3 separate regions of the Homo sapiens genome follow, and regions 2 and 3 are each linked to region 1. The links are contacts of gene promoters, found by promoter capture Hi-C in human tissues and cell types (Jung and others, 2019). All regions are on one chromosome and are shown on one strand. Each heading gives the region's core, a stretch centred on a gene start or on the middle of the fragment in contact. The rest is flanking DNA. Distances are from core to core; before and after follow the strand shown. Region 1 holds the start of SLC6A18 (solute carrier family 6 member 18). Region 2 holds the start of LOC124900189. Region 3 overlaps TERT (telomerase reverse transcriptase).

The links. Contacts are between HindIII fragments. The study calls those that stand out against the background at their distance.
Region 2: a contact is called between a fragment that was not itself captured here and the fragment with the promoter of SLC6A18 in region 1, in 1 of the 25 tissues and cell types used here (spleen).
Region 3: a contact is called between a fragment that was not itself captured here and the fragment with the promoter of SLC6A18 in region 1, in 1 of the 25 tissues and cell types used here (spleen).

The regions. Positions count from the first base shown.
Region 1 is chr5:1,223,475-1,227,826 of GRCh38, reverse strand. It overlaps SLC6A18 (solute carrier family 6 member 18), which reads right to left and starts at 2,446. Exons shown (of 12, transcript NM_182632.3): 1 at 2,190-2,446. The coding sequence starts at 2,349. SLC6A19 (solute carrier family 6 member 19) reads right to left here. Exons shown (of 12, transcript NM_001003841.3): 12 at 2,716-4,352. RefSeq lists an enhancer at 1,510-2,052. The HindIII fragment of the contact is 11,488 bases long and covers 1-4,352 here.
Region 2 is chr5:1,180,200-1,184,551 of GRCh38, reverse strand. It overlaps LOC124900189, which reads left to right and starts at 1,705. Exons shown (of 8, transcript XM_047417960.1): 1 at 1,705-1,909; 2 at 4,341-4,352. The HindIII fragment of the contact is 9,122 bases long and covers 1-4,352 here.
Region 3 is chr5:1,266,320-1,270,671 of GRCh38, reverse strand. It overlaps TERT (telomerase reverse transcriptase), which reads left to right. Exons shown (of 16, transcript NM_198253.3): 9 at 2,039-2,152; 10 at 4,137-4,208. Among named protein-coding and RNA genes, the nearest start is that of TERT, 27 kb to the left of the region's middle. The HindIII fragment of the contact is 5,877 bases long and covers 1-4,352 here.

The sequences.
Region 1 (4,352 bases), core at 1,197-3,696:
GCATTTACGAGTCTACGTTCCTTTGATTTAAAGACGCTGAATGTGTAATAAAGCAGCTGCCATGAAATGTCATAGGTGTGAGAAAATCACTGTAAATCTTTACCGCAACGTTTTGCTACATTCTGTTACAATGTTGCTTTACAAGTCTTAGCTTTGAAGAGAACATTTATGTAGTTGAATACTTATGAATGGGAGAGCAAATAATATTCGCCTTTGGTAGTCATGAGTATATGCAAATGTTAAAAGCTACACAGTACCTGCTTCTTAATTATATCTTGTTTTCAAAATCATCAATGAGTGATCCTCACAGCGAGACAAAGTGAAGGGCATGTTCACACACAGGGTGAGAATGCTGATGGCACGGCCCTTAGGAAGTGTGTGAGTTAAATAAACTTGGATGTTTCATGACATGCAACCCGGTGGCTTGCATCAGGAGATTGATGGTAGAGTCGTTCATGAGTGGAGCAGCCCTGAAGTCCCCGCGCAGCTGGCGGGCAGGGCTGTTCTCCCTCCTCAGCAGCACCCCAGGTGGGGGCCTCCCCAGCTTTGCCCCAGCGTGGAGCAGCTGAGTTTAAGGGAGGCTAGTGCCAGACACTTCCAGTACACTGCAGGCGCTTAGCAATGGTAACTGGGTTTCGGTGGGCAAGGCATCGGCGGGCAAGGCATCGGCGGGCAAGTCATCGGCGGGCAAGGCATCGACGGGCAAGGCGTCGGCGGGCAAGGCGTCGGCGGGCAAGGCGTCGGCGGGCAAGGGGTCGGCGGGCAAGGTGTCGGCGGGCAAGGCGTCGGCGGGCAAGGCGTTGGGCGCGTCGGCGGGCAAGGCATCGGTGGGCAAGGCATCGGTGGGCAAGGCGTCGGTGGGCAAGGCGTTGGGCAAGGCATCAGCAGGAAAGGCATCGGTGGGCAAGGCATTGGCGAACAAGGCGTTGGTGGGTAAAGCGTTGGCCGGCATTTCCAGCTCTGCGTGAAGCCTGCTGCCCCCACAACCTTGCATGCTCTGGTGACTCTTAGCAGATCGAGCCGCAGCACAGGCAGCGAGGGCCCCGGGAGCCAGGGACGCCTCTGCCCTTGGGCTTTGGTGCTTTCAGAAATGCCTTCAAAGGGACTCTCATGATGAGAAGATCCAAGGCCCAATGCACCCTCTCCAGCCCCAAAGCCCCAAAGAGACCCCAGTGCCCCGAGGGTGGCAGTGACGGGTGTTTCTTTTTGTTTTTTCCATTTGTGCGCATTTCCTGCATTTTCTGCCTGTTGAGAATCTTTTCTTAAGCAGGAGGAAAAACACTTTAAAGGAGTAACCTTATAACAAGGGATAGTTGTGCGGGGCTCTCAGGGAAGGAGCTGAGGGCCCGGGGAACAGGCTGACCAAGCAGCCCGGCCTGGCCTGAGGAGGACCCTGCGGCCTGGGAAGCCCCTGCCCGTGTTGCCTGGGGAAGACCTGGGTGTCCATGCGTGATGTTGTACGTCGGCTCCCTGAGAGCAGTGATTCATGCCTGTCCCTACATCCTGTGTCGCCACATGGAGAGCAGAGTGTGACCCCTGCATGAAGAGAAGCAGGCACAGGGTGAGGGGAGGCTCGAGGTGCGTGGGAGCCTATTTCAGTCACCAATGCACTTCTGGGGGTGGTGAGTCCAAGGTCACTAAAGTCACCCAGACAGTTCTGAACATCCTGGCACCCCCCACAGGGCTCTCCCAGAGAACCAAAGCCAGGGAGGCGAGGGGTGGGCCCCCAAATTCCTGCAAAGAACCTCGGAGAAGGGCACCTGAGCACATGTCTGGACACACCAAGGCTGTGGTGAGGAAACCCAGAGCGGATTGTGTGTTCTTTAAAGAACTGACGACATTCAGATGGAAGAGCGCTCACTGTTTGTAGGGTGTGTGTGTCGGGCAGGGCGGCCCATTCAACCTGACGCCTGGCAGGAAGCTGCCCTGAGGTCCCGGAAGACCATAGTGGACCCCGAGGGGACTGGATCCTCCGTGCTGTGGGCAGTGGTGAAGCTGCCCTGAGGTCCCAGAAGACTGCAGGTGGGCCCTGAGGGGACTGACTCTGCCGTGGGCAATGGTGCACCCTGGTTTCCAGGAGGAGTGACTCTGCCCAAGCACTGGGGATGCGTGGCAGGCGCCTGGCAGGTCAGGGTGGAGACGGCCTCCCCTGCTTAGGGGTCTGCCCCAGGACGCAGGTGGGTGCTTACCTCCTCCATAGGTCTGGCACAGGTATGGGAACCGCCAAATGTTCCCCAGTCCCACGGCAAACCCAGTGCAGCTCAGGAGGTACTGGGCCTTGTTGTCCCACTTGGGCCTCTCATCCCCGAGGTCGCAGGCGGCCGGGTCCGGTTCTGGGGCATGAGCCATGGTGACTGAGTGCCCCAGGCTTCAGGGCAAGGGTGGTGCCTCACTCCACACCCAGCACTAGAGAGCCGTCTCCAGCCTCTGCCGACGTTTGGAAACCACAAGCAGCCCCACTGCAGTTGTATTTATTCATTTCTTTAAAGGAAAACCAGTGGAGTGCCGTTAATGGGTAACTCAGGTCCAGGCCCTGGCTCTGACGCCAGGGTCCTTCCCTGGCACCCACGTCCTCTGCTCCTTCTCGCATGCTCTGTGTTCCAGGCAAACGCCGGGCCTGGCACCACCCCCAGCACCATGAGGACCGTTTGCAAGGACAGCCTCAAGTTTTTTTGTTGCAGACACCAGGATTCCCAAGACTGAGGCATATTTTAATCGTTTTAAATTTCTTATGTTTTATTTAACCATTTGATCTTGAGATACTTATAGATTGTCACTCTGTCACTGTCAGAAACAACTCAGATCAGATCGCATGCACCCGAAGCCCGGATTCCCGCAGGGATCCTCTCAGCTGCTCTTGGGAGGCCGGGGGCTGCCCTCACACCCACTGCTGCCCTCGGGCCGCTGGGCAGGACAGGGTGACAGGCACCCACCGTGCGTGGGGGCAGAGGGCTGAGTCCTCTCCTGTGCTGGGGGCACCCCTGTCCATGGGTGGAGGGTTGATGAGTTGACGCCGGGTGAGTTCAGCTCTAAGGAGCTCCCCACAGTGCTCCCTGGACTCTGGGGCTCCTCCTTGCAGATGCTCCCGCCACGGACAGGCCAAGGGCCCCCAGGCCCGCAATTGCCCCATTCCACTGGACACTGCACCCCTCAACCGTGTGGCCACAACTCCAAATCCATGAGTCCCAGGGCAGGGGCCCAGGTGGACACATTTTTGGAAGGTTCTTATTTGAGTGAGAGGAAGTGTGAGGGAAGAAGATGAGAAGAGCTGGTTGGTCCCCATTGTGAGGCCACAGGCCTGGGCCATGGCCTCTTCGGAGCAAGCCCCCAAAGCCAGACCCCCCAGGAGGAGGCAGGAGCTGGACCTGCCGTCCCCACCATCCCGTCTGAGGTCACTGGCTCACTCATCCCTCTACGTCTGGACAACAGTAACTTCTAGGGTGAGCATACTCAATAGAAGGGATTTATTTAGAAATGTACACTTTATGCCCATAAAGCCTGCATTTCTACCACATTTACAGAGACATTGAAACCTATGAAACAACGCATGAATCAGGAGATGTAGATGAGATGGGAGCTCCCGCCCAGGGTCCTATGGCAGGCACACCAGGGTACACCAATGGATGCCAGGGCACATCAGTGCACACCTGTGCATGCCAGGGTACACCAATGCACACCTGTGCACGCCTGGCAGGGCCTCCTGGGCAGATGCCACAGGGCAGCATATTAATGGGGCACTGATGGAAATTTTCTCGATCCAGGGCCAAAGAGCAGGAAAAGATGAGGTGAGACCCTGTTGAAGCCATCAGCAGGCGAGCCCCTCGGTGGCATCACAGCCGGGGGCAGAGGCTGTGATATGTCCCCCCACCTCTGCTGCTGTGGAGTCTTGCGCATCCCAGGGCCCAGTGACAGTCAGCAGGGTGAAAGGGGCTGGTAGGGGACTCAGTGTGTGCAGTCACTGCTGGATGGGGTGCTGGAAGGGACGATTGTGACCAGGTTTCTGTGGGTGGAACATCATACTGGCACACACCAGGCTTTCAGTCCTGCCTGTAGGAATTCTCAGAACATCAGTTTAATGTAAGCGTCCAGATTCTTCTATGGAAAGCAGAGGTGACCTGTCCGTAGGAACTCTCAGAACACCAGTTTAATGTAAGCATCCAGATTCTTCCATGCAAAGCGGAGGTGACCTGTCCGTAGGAACTCTCAGAACACCAGTTTAATGTAAGCATCCAGATTCTTCCGTGCAAAGCGGAGGTGACCTGTCCGTGGAAGCAGATGTCCCAAGTGCCGACTGCCTTTGGCTGCGATGGAATGTTGAACCCCAATGGGGGCCCATCCCGTGACGGGGGCAG
Region 2 (4,352 bases), core at 809-3,308, 43 kb after region 1:
TGCAGGGGAGGCTCGGGTGCCAGTCTCAGCCCCAAGAGGCGCCAAGTTGAGTTTGTGGATGGGACAGAAGGGGCGTCCAAGGCCACAGCCTGACCCGACCCCGCAGCACCTGGGTTATCCCTGAGCTCCTTCTCCAAGCACCTCTAGAATCCTGTAAAATGGTTTCTAACCAATGGTTTGTGATTAACCGTCAACTGGGGAGGTGTCTTCTCAGTGGCCTGTGGTTTTCCAAGAAGCACCTGTGACCCTGTTGAGCACCTGCAAAGAGAACCTGGGCAGAGCGGGGTCCGCCTCTGTGGAACATTCCAGGAGCTCTGCCTGCCTAGCACCTGCACCCGTGCGGGGTACTCAGGCAGCTCTCGTCCCCAGGTGAGTCTGCTCTCTGGGGCCTCCAGGTTTCTGCCCACGGCTAGGATGCCCGTGTCCCACCCATCCAGGCCCCTTCCCCCAGACCCTGGGTGCTCCTCCTGCCCCACCCCAGGGCCGTGTGCACCCAGCCCTTCATCATCTCCACGCCCTGATGTGCAGAACCCTTGGTGGCCCTGGCTGGGCCTGCCCATGGCTCTCCAGCCTTGCCAGCCTATCGGGAGCCTGGGGCTGCGCCCGGGGTGGGGACAGGGGCTCCCCATTTAGCAGCCCAGACTGGAAGCCTTAGGTGGAGGTGGAGCACACACCGCTGGCCAGAGGGGGTCTGCTGCCCTGGAAAGGGTTGGGGGAGAAGTGAGCTCCCCTTACGTCTCCTATTTCCCCCTCATGCCCCTTCTTGCCCCTCCCTCACCCCCTGCAGCAGCCCCTGAGGGGTCTCAGAGCTTGAAAACCAAGCAAGGAGGAGCTTCGCTGTTACCCAAAGGCCGCTGGCCCTGCCCCTTCCTGCCTCTGCCCAGCCCTGACCACGGAGCCACCTGCTCTCCCCCTCTTCCCTGGGGCCGGCCCTGGTGTCCTCCAGGCCTTACTGAGCACAGTGCCGGGTGCTGGGTTCTGGGTGCCGGGTGCCGGGTGCTGGATGCTGCATGTGGTTTACCCCATTCCTGCCCCACCCCCGTCCAGGGCTCCTGGGGATTTTGTCCTCCTGTCCAGGTGAGGGGCATCCCCGGCCCAGCATCTGTGCATCTGGAGTCTGCACCCTGGCCTCAGAGCTGGCCTTGGTATCTTTATGGAGCTGCCCCATGTAATGACAGCGGACTGCCGGGAACAAAGCCTGACTTGTCTACAGAGCCTGTGCTGCTGCTGACAGCAAGGAGCGTTATTAAAAACCCTTTTGTCTCTGCCCCTTCTGCGGGCTCATTGACCTTCACGGGCCAAGCAAGGCACTTTGCAGCTGTATTTTGAAATGGAAGTGCTTCCAAGGAAACATTGTTTGGGGGAACATTTTTAGCAGGTGAACGAAACTCACAGTTCACCAATAGCAATCACGCCGGAGACGTTTCTCACTGTGCCCCACAGCCTCTCTGGGGCGAGCAGGCCTGGCGACAGGACACACGTCTCTGGGAGCCGGGTTTATTGGAGCCAGCGTGGACTCCCTGGGCACCCTCCCCCCAGCAGCTGTCTGCAGGAGCTGCGAGCTGCTAGCTGCGCTATCACAAATGTTAAAATGTAACTCCTCTTTGCTTTTCCTCAACCAACAGCAGCGCAGCCGAGCAAAGGTGAACTGTGTGGTGTTGATAATCTAATCGGGAGCACAGGGCCTCCCCGGGTGGGTGCCCCATTCCGATCCGCTGCCCCTGAGAGGTGGGCCTTGGGAGAGGCAGGGCTTGGACGCCCTTCCTCGGGGCAGCGGGGTGCAGGGAGAGTTCTTCTGGCTGTGAGTCCCGGAGTCCCCGACCCTGGCACCCCTTCAGCAAGGTTCTCAGGCACATCTGCCGGGGGCGCTGAGGGGACCTGAGATGGACGGGCCGGGAGGGAGGCTGAGGTAAGACCTGAGGCTGAGGTAAGACCTCAGCCTGAGGTAAGACACAGTGCTGGGGCCTCCCTTGAAGCCCGTTTGAAGTGAGGTCCCCACAGCTGTCAGAGGACACGCAGGGTGGGGGCTCCTGGGTGGGAAACAGGTAAACCTCTTGGGCGCCTGGGGCTGGAGGCCTGAGTGGTCCTGAAAAGAACATTCAGGCCAGGCGCAGTGGCTCACACCTGTAATCCCAGCACTTTCGGGGGCTGAGGCGGGTGGATCACAAGGTCAAGAGATCGAGACCATCCTGGCCAACATGGTGAAACCCCGTCTCTACTAAAGACACAAAAGCTAGCTGCATGTGGTGGCGCACGCCTGTAGTCCCAGCTCCTCTTAGGGAGGCTGAGGCAGGAGAATCACTTGGACCCAGGAGGCGGAGGTTGCAGTGAGCTGAGATTGCGCCACTGCACTCCAGCCTGGCGACACAGCGAGACTCTGTCTCAAAAATAAATAAATAAATAAATAAAAAGAAAAGAAAAGAACATTTAGTGAAAGGAGCAAGGAAGAGAAGGCATTCTGGGCAGACCCCGGCCCCCAGGGCACAGGCGTGCAGTGTTTCCCTTCCAGGGTTTGGTGGACACTTGGAGGGACCAGGTCGGGGTGTGGCCTGGGAGGGGTGGCCAAGGTCCAGGGGTCAGGGTCACTTCGGGGAAGTCCAAGGGGCAGCGCGGAGCCACCGCTGTGGACATGGGAGGAGCCTACTAGCCAGCATGGCCCAAAGGAAGGAGGGGCTGAGGGTCAGAGGTCATGGGAGAGAAGAGGGAGTGGGGCAGACCCTCTCCCAAGGCCATGGGGTGGGGGAGAAACAGCGCCTTAGGGCCTGTCCTGATCCTCCTCCAGAGCCTGCTCAGAGTGGGAGCAGCCCCTCCTCCCTTCCCCTCCACCACCCAGGCGCAGGTGCGGCCTCTCCCTGGCCCGGGGACCTGCGTGAGGTCAGCCCTCAAAGCGCTGTCCCTTCTGGCTCACCTGGGCCCAGGGTGAGGCCCGACCCCACGGTGGACCCTGAGTCACTGCAGCTTCTGTGCCCAGCTCAGGAACAGAGCAGCCTTCAAGGCCAGGACTGGGGAGGGGCTCGGCTTTTCCGGCCCTTGGACGCCACTCAACTCTTCCTGCCCGTGTGTTGGCAAAGAACTAGCACGGCCTCTGAAGCACTGAAAAGACAAGGGCTACCTCTTTTCCAGAAGGTCCCAGAGCCCACCATGAGCAGGCAGTGTTTGGGAAAAGCCCGGGGAGGTGGCAGGGGCTCCGAGGAGCGGGGGATTCTAAGGGGTTATAGCTGCGCTGAGCCCCGGGCTCCTCAGAAGCCTCAGAAGGAGAAGGGGGCTCCTTTGGGGGCATCCTCCCTGCATCCGGGGTGTTGCAGGGTGACCTCCCGTAGTGCCAGCAGGGGCGGCCCCTCGGTCTGGCCAGAGAAGCCCAGCCACTGTCCCGTATGGTGGATGTCAGGCCCAGTGCCGTGTTTCCGAAGGAGGGAAGGGGTGAGAGGCAGCAGCCAGACACCCCGCTGAGCCCGCCCCGACCCTGAGCACGTGGGAGCTGGAGACGGTGTCACACACTCGGCCTGGCTTTGGGACCATCCCTAGGGCTTCTGTGGGGAGGAGGAAGGAGGAGCAGACGTGGAAGGGCTGCCAGGGCCCCAGCAGATGGGGTCGGGGGCGGAGGAGAGCCAGGAAAGTGTGGGCGCCTGGGGGAGTCACAGATGGAGGTCTGGTACCTAGAGCCTGGAGAACGACGGCTCTCGGGACAGAGGGCCTCAGACTCTGGCACACCAGCCGTACCTATGACAAGCTCCATGGGGGAAGAACCAGGCACCTGGATGCATGGCTGTGAGGCCCCCACCCCACAGGGGCCTCAGAGGCACAGGCTCCAGGCTCCAGCGGGGAGGGCGCTGCATCCCACCCTGGGAGCATGGCTATGAGGCCCCCACCCCACAGGGGACCCAGAGGCACAGGCTCCAGGCTCCAGCGGGAAGGGCCCTGCTCCCCACCCCCATCCCCCGCCTCAGGCTTCACTGAGATGGGCCCCGGGGACCCCGGGAGCTTTCTGTGACTGCTCGGCAATGGGTTCCCCAAGGCCTGGCACAGGCTTTCCTTAGAGCCAGGCTGTGGACCCAAAGCCTTGGGCCAAGTCTCAGGACCAGATGGGCGGCTCTGGAGAGGACCCCACAGTCCAGGGTGAGGCGCGCCCCGCTGGGGGCAGCGCTGCCTGTGGAGAGGACCCCACAGTCCAGGGTGAGGCGCGCCCCGCTGGGGGCAGCACTGCCCGTGGCCGTCTCCATCCATCTCACCCTGACGCAAGGCCGGCTTCCTCTGCGTCCAGTGGTCGGGGCCTTGGAGAGGCCAGCAGGGCCCGTGGGGGTCGCGTTTCTTCCCTGTGGCATCAGCTCTTTTCCCAGCAGGCCTCTTTGCAG
Region 3 (4,352 bases), core at 1,012-3,511, 43 kb before region 1:
AGGGCGCGGGCTCTTCTCTCTGTGACTAGATTTCCCATCTGGAAAGTGCGGGGTTGACCGTGTAGTTTGCTCCTCTCGGGGGGCCTGTGGTGGCCATGGGGCAGGCGGCCTGGGAGAGCTGCCGTCACACAGCCACTGGGTGAGCCACACTCACGGTGGTAGAGCCACAGTGCCTGGTGCCACATCACGTCCTCTGGATTTTAAGTAAAACCACACACCTCCCGGCAGGCATCTGCCTGCGACCCTGTGTGTGCCTGGGGAGAGTGGTAGCACGGAGGAAATTCGTGCACACTCAAGGTCATCAGCAAGGTCATCCGCAGTCAGGTGGAACGTGGAGGCCTCTCTCTGGGATCGTCTCCAGCGGATAAAGGACTGTGCACAGCTTCGGAAGCTTTTATTTAAAAATATAACTATTAATTATTGCATTATAAGTAATCACTAATGGTATCAGCAATTATAATATTTATTAAAGTATAATTAGAAATATTAAGTAGTACACACGTTCTGGAAAAACACAAATTGCACATGGCAGCAGAGTGAATTTTGGCCGAGGGACACGTGTGCACATGTGTGTAAGCGGCCCCCAGGCCCACAGAATTCGCTGACAAAGTCACCTCCCCAGAGAAGCCACCACGGGCCTCCTTCGTGGTCGTGAATTTTATTAAGATGGATCAAGTCACGTACCGTCCACGTGTGGCAGGGCTTTGGGGAATGTGAGGTGATGACTGCGTCCTCATGCCCTGACAGACAGGAGGTGACTGTGTCTGTCCTGTCCCTAGGACACGGACAGGCCCGAAGCTCTAGTCCCCATCGTGGTCCAGTTTGGCCTCTGAATAAAAACGTCTTCAAAACCTGTTGCCCCAAAAACTAAGAACAGAGAGAGTTTCCCATCCCATGTGCTCACAGGGGCGTATCTGCTTGCGTTGACTCGCTGGGCTGGCCGGACTCCTAGAGTTGGTGCGTGTGCTTCTGTGCAAAAAGTGCAGTCCTCTTGCCCATCACTGTGATATCTGCACCAGCAAGGAAAGCCTCTTTTCTTTTCTTTCTTTTTTTTTTTTTGAGACGGAACGTCACTGTTGTCTGCCTGGGCTTGAGTGCAGTGGCGCGATCTCAACTCACTGCAACCTCCGCCTCCCGGGTTCCAGCATTTCTCCTGCCTCAGCCTCCCGAGCAGCTGAGATTACAGGCACCCACCCCCTGCGCCTGGCTAATTTTTGTATTTTTAGTAGAGAGGGGTTTTTGCCATGTTGGCCAGGCTGGTCTCGAACTCCTGACCTCAGGTGATCCACCCACCTCGGCCTCCCAAAGTGCTGGGATTACAGGTGTGAGCCATCACGCCCAGCCGGAAAGCCTCTTTTTAAGGTGACCACCTATAGCGCTTCCCGAAAATAACAGGTCTTGTTTTTGCAGTAGGCTGCAAGCGTCTCTTAGCAACAGGAGTGGCGTCCTGTGGGCTCTGGGGATGGCTGAGGGTCGCGTGGCAGCCATGCCTTCTGTGTGCACCTTTAGGTTCCACGGGGCTATTCTGCTCTCACTGTTTGTCTGAAAACGCACCCTTGGCATCCTTGTTTGGAGAGTTTCTGCTTCTCGTTGGTCATGCTGAAACTAGGGGCAAGGTTGTATCCGTTGGCGCGCAGCGGCTACATGTAGGGTCATGAGTCTTTCACCGTGGACAAATTCCTTGAAAAAAAAAAAAGGAGTCCGGTTAAGCATTCATTCCGGGTCAAGTGTCTGGTTCTGTGAATAAACTCTAAGATTTAAGAAACCTTAATGAAAGAAAACCTTGATGATTCAGAGCAAGGATGTGGTCACACCTGTGGCTGGATCTGTTTCAGCCGCCCCAGTGCATGGTGAGAGTGGGGAGCAGGGATTGTTTGTTCAGAGGTCTCATCTGGTATGTTTCTGAGGTGTTTGCCGGCTGAATGGTAGACGTGTCGTTTGTGTGTATGAGGTTCTGTGTCTGTGTGTGGCTCGGTTTGAGTGTACGCATGTCCAGCACATGCCCTGCCCGTCTCTCACCTGTGTCTTCCCGCCCCAGGTCCTACGTCCAGTGCCAGGGGATCCCGCAGGGCTCCATCCTCTCCACGCTGCTCTGCAGCCTGTGCTACGGCGACATGGAGAACAAGCTGTTTGCGGGGATTCGGCGGGACGGGTGAGGCCTCCTCTTCCCCAGGGGGGCTTGGGTGGGGGTTGATTTGCTTTTGATGCATTCAGTGTTAATATTCCTGGTGCTCTGGAGACCATGACTGCTCTGTCTTGAGGAACCAGACAAGGTTGCAGCCCCTTCTTGGTATGAAGCCGCACGGGAGGGGTTGCACAGCCTGAGGACTGCGGGCTCCACGCAGGCTCTGTCCAGCGGCCATGTCCAGAGGCCTCAGGGCTCAGCAGGCGGGAGGGCCGCTGCCCTGCATGATGAGCATGTGAATTCAACACCGAGGAAGCACACCAGCTTCTGTCACGTCACCCAGGTTCCGTTAGGGTCCTTGGGGAGATGGGGCTGGTGCAGCCTGAGGCCCCACATCTCCCAGCAGGCCCTCGACAGGTGGCCTGGACTGGGCGCCTCTTCAGCCCATTGCCCATCCCACTTGCATGGGGTCTACACCCAAGGACGCACACACCTAAATATCGTGCCAACCTAATGTGGTTCAACTCAGCTGGCTTTTATTGACAGCAGTTACTTTTTTTTTTTTAATACTTTAAGTTCTAGGGTACATGTGCACGACGTGCAGGTTAGTTACATATGTATACATGTGCCATGTTGGTGTGCTGCACCCATTAACTCATCATTTACATTAGGTATATCTCCTAATGCTATCCCTCCCCACTCCCCCCATCCCATGACAGGCCCTGGTGTGTGATGTTCCCCACCCTGTGTCCAAGTGTTCTCATTGTTCAGTTCCCACCTGTGAGTGAGAACATGTGGTGTTTGGTTTTCTTTCCTTGCAATAGTTTGCTCAGAGTGATGGTTTCCAGCTTCGTCCATGTCCCTACAAAGGACATGAACTCATCCTTTTTTATGACTGCATAGTATTCCGTGGTGTATATGTGCCACATTTTCTTAATCCAGTCTATCATCGATGGACATTTGGGTTGGTTGCAAGTCTTTGCTACTGTGAATAGTGCCGCAATAAACATACGTGTGCATGTGTCTTTATAGCAGCATGATTTATAATCCTTTGGGTATATACCCAGTAATGGGATGGCTGGGTCAAATGGTATTTCTAGTTCTAGATCCTTGAGGAATCACCACACTGTCTTCCACAATGGTTGAACTAGTTTACACTCCCACCAACAGTGTAAAAGTGTTCTGGTGCTGGAGAGGATGTGGACAGCAGTTATTTTTTTATGAAAATAGTATCACTGAACAAGCAGACAGTTAGTGAAGGATGCGTCAGGAAGCCTGCAGGCCACACAGCCATTTCTCTCGAAGACTCCGGGTTTTTCCTGTGCATCTTTTGAAACTCTAGCTCCAATTATAGCATGTACAGTGGATCAAGGTTCTTCTTCATTAAGGTTCAAGTTCTAGATTGAAATAAGTTTATGTAACAGAAACAAAAATTTCTTGTACACACAACTTGCTCTGGGATTTGGAGGAAAGTGTCCTCGAGCTGGCGGCACACTGGTCAGCCCTCTGGGACAGGATACCTCTGGCCCATGGTCATGGGGCGCTGGGCTTGGGCCTGAGGGTCACACAGTGCACCATGCCCAGCTTCCTGTGGATAGGATCTGGGTCTCGGATCATGCTGAGGACCACAGCTGCCATGCTGGTAAAGGGCACCACGTGGCTCAGAGGGGGCGAGGTTCCCAGCCCCAGCTTTCTTACCGTCTTCAGTTATTTTTCCCTAAGAGTCTGAGAAGTGGGGCCGCGCCTGATGGCCTTCGTTCGTCTTCAGCTGGCACAGAATTGCACAAGCTGATGGTAAACACTGAGTACTTATAATGAATGAGGAATTGCTGTAGCAGTTAACTGTAGAGAGCTCGTCTGTTGGAAAGAAATTTAAGTTTTTCATTTAACCGCTTTGGAGAATGTTACTTTATTTATGGCTGTGTAAATTGTTTGACATTCAGTCCCTCGTAGACAGATACTACGTAAAAAGTGTAAAGTTAACCTTGCTGTGTATTTTCCCTTATTTTAGGCTGCTCCTGCGTTTGGTGGATGATTTCTTGTTGGTGACACCTCACCTCACCCACGCGAAAACCTTCCTCAGGTGAGGCCCGTGCCGTGTGTCTGTGGGGACCTCCACAGCCTGTGGGCTTTGCAGTTGAGCCCCCCGTGTCCTGCCCCTGGCACCGCAGCGTTGTCTCTGCCAAGTCCTCTCTCTCTGCCGGTGCTGGATCCGCAAGAGCAGAGG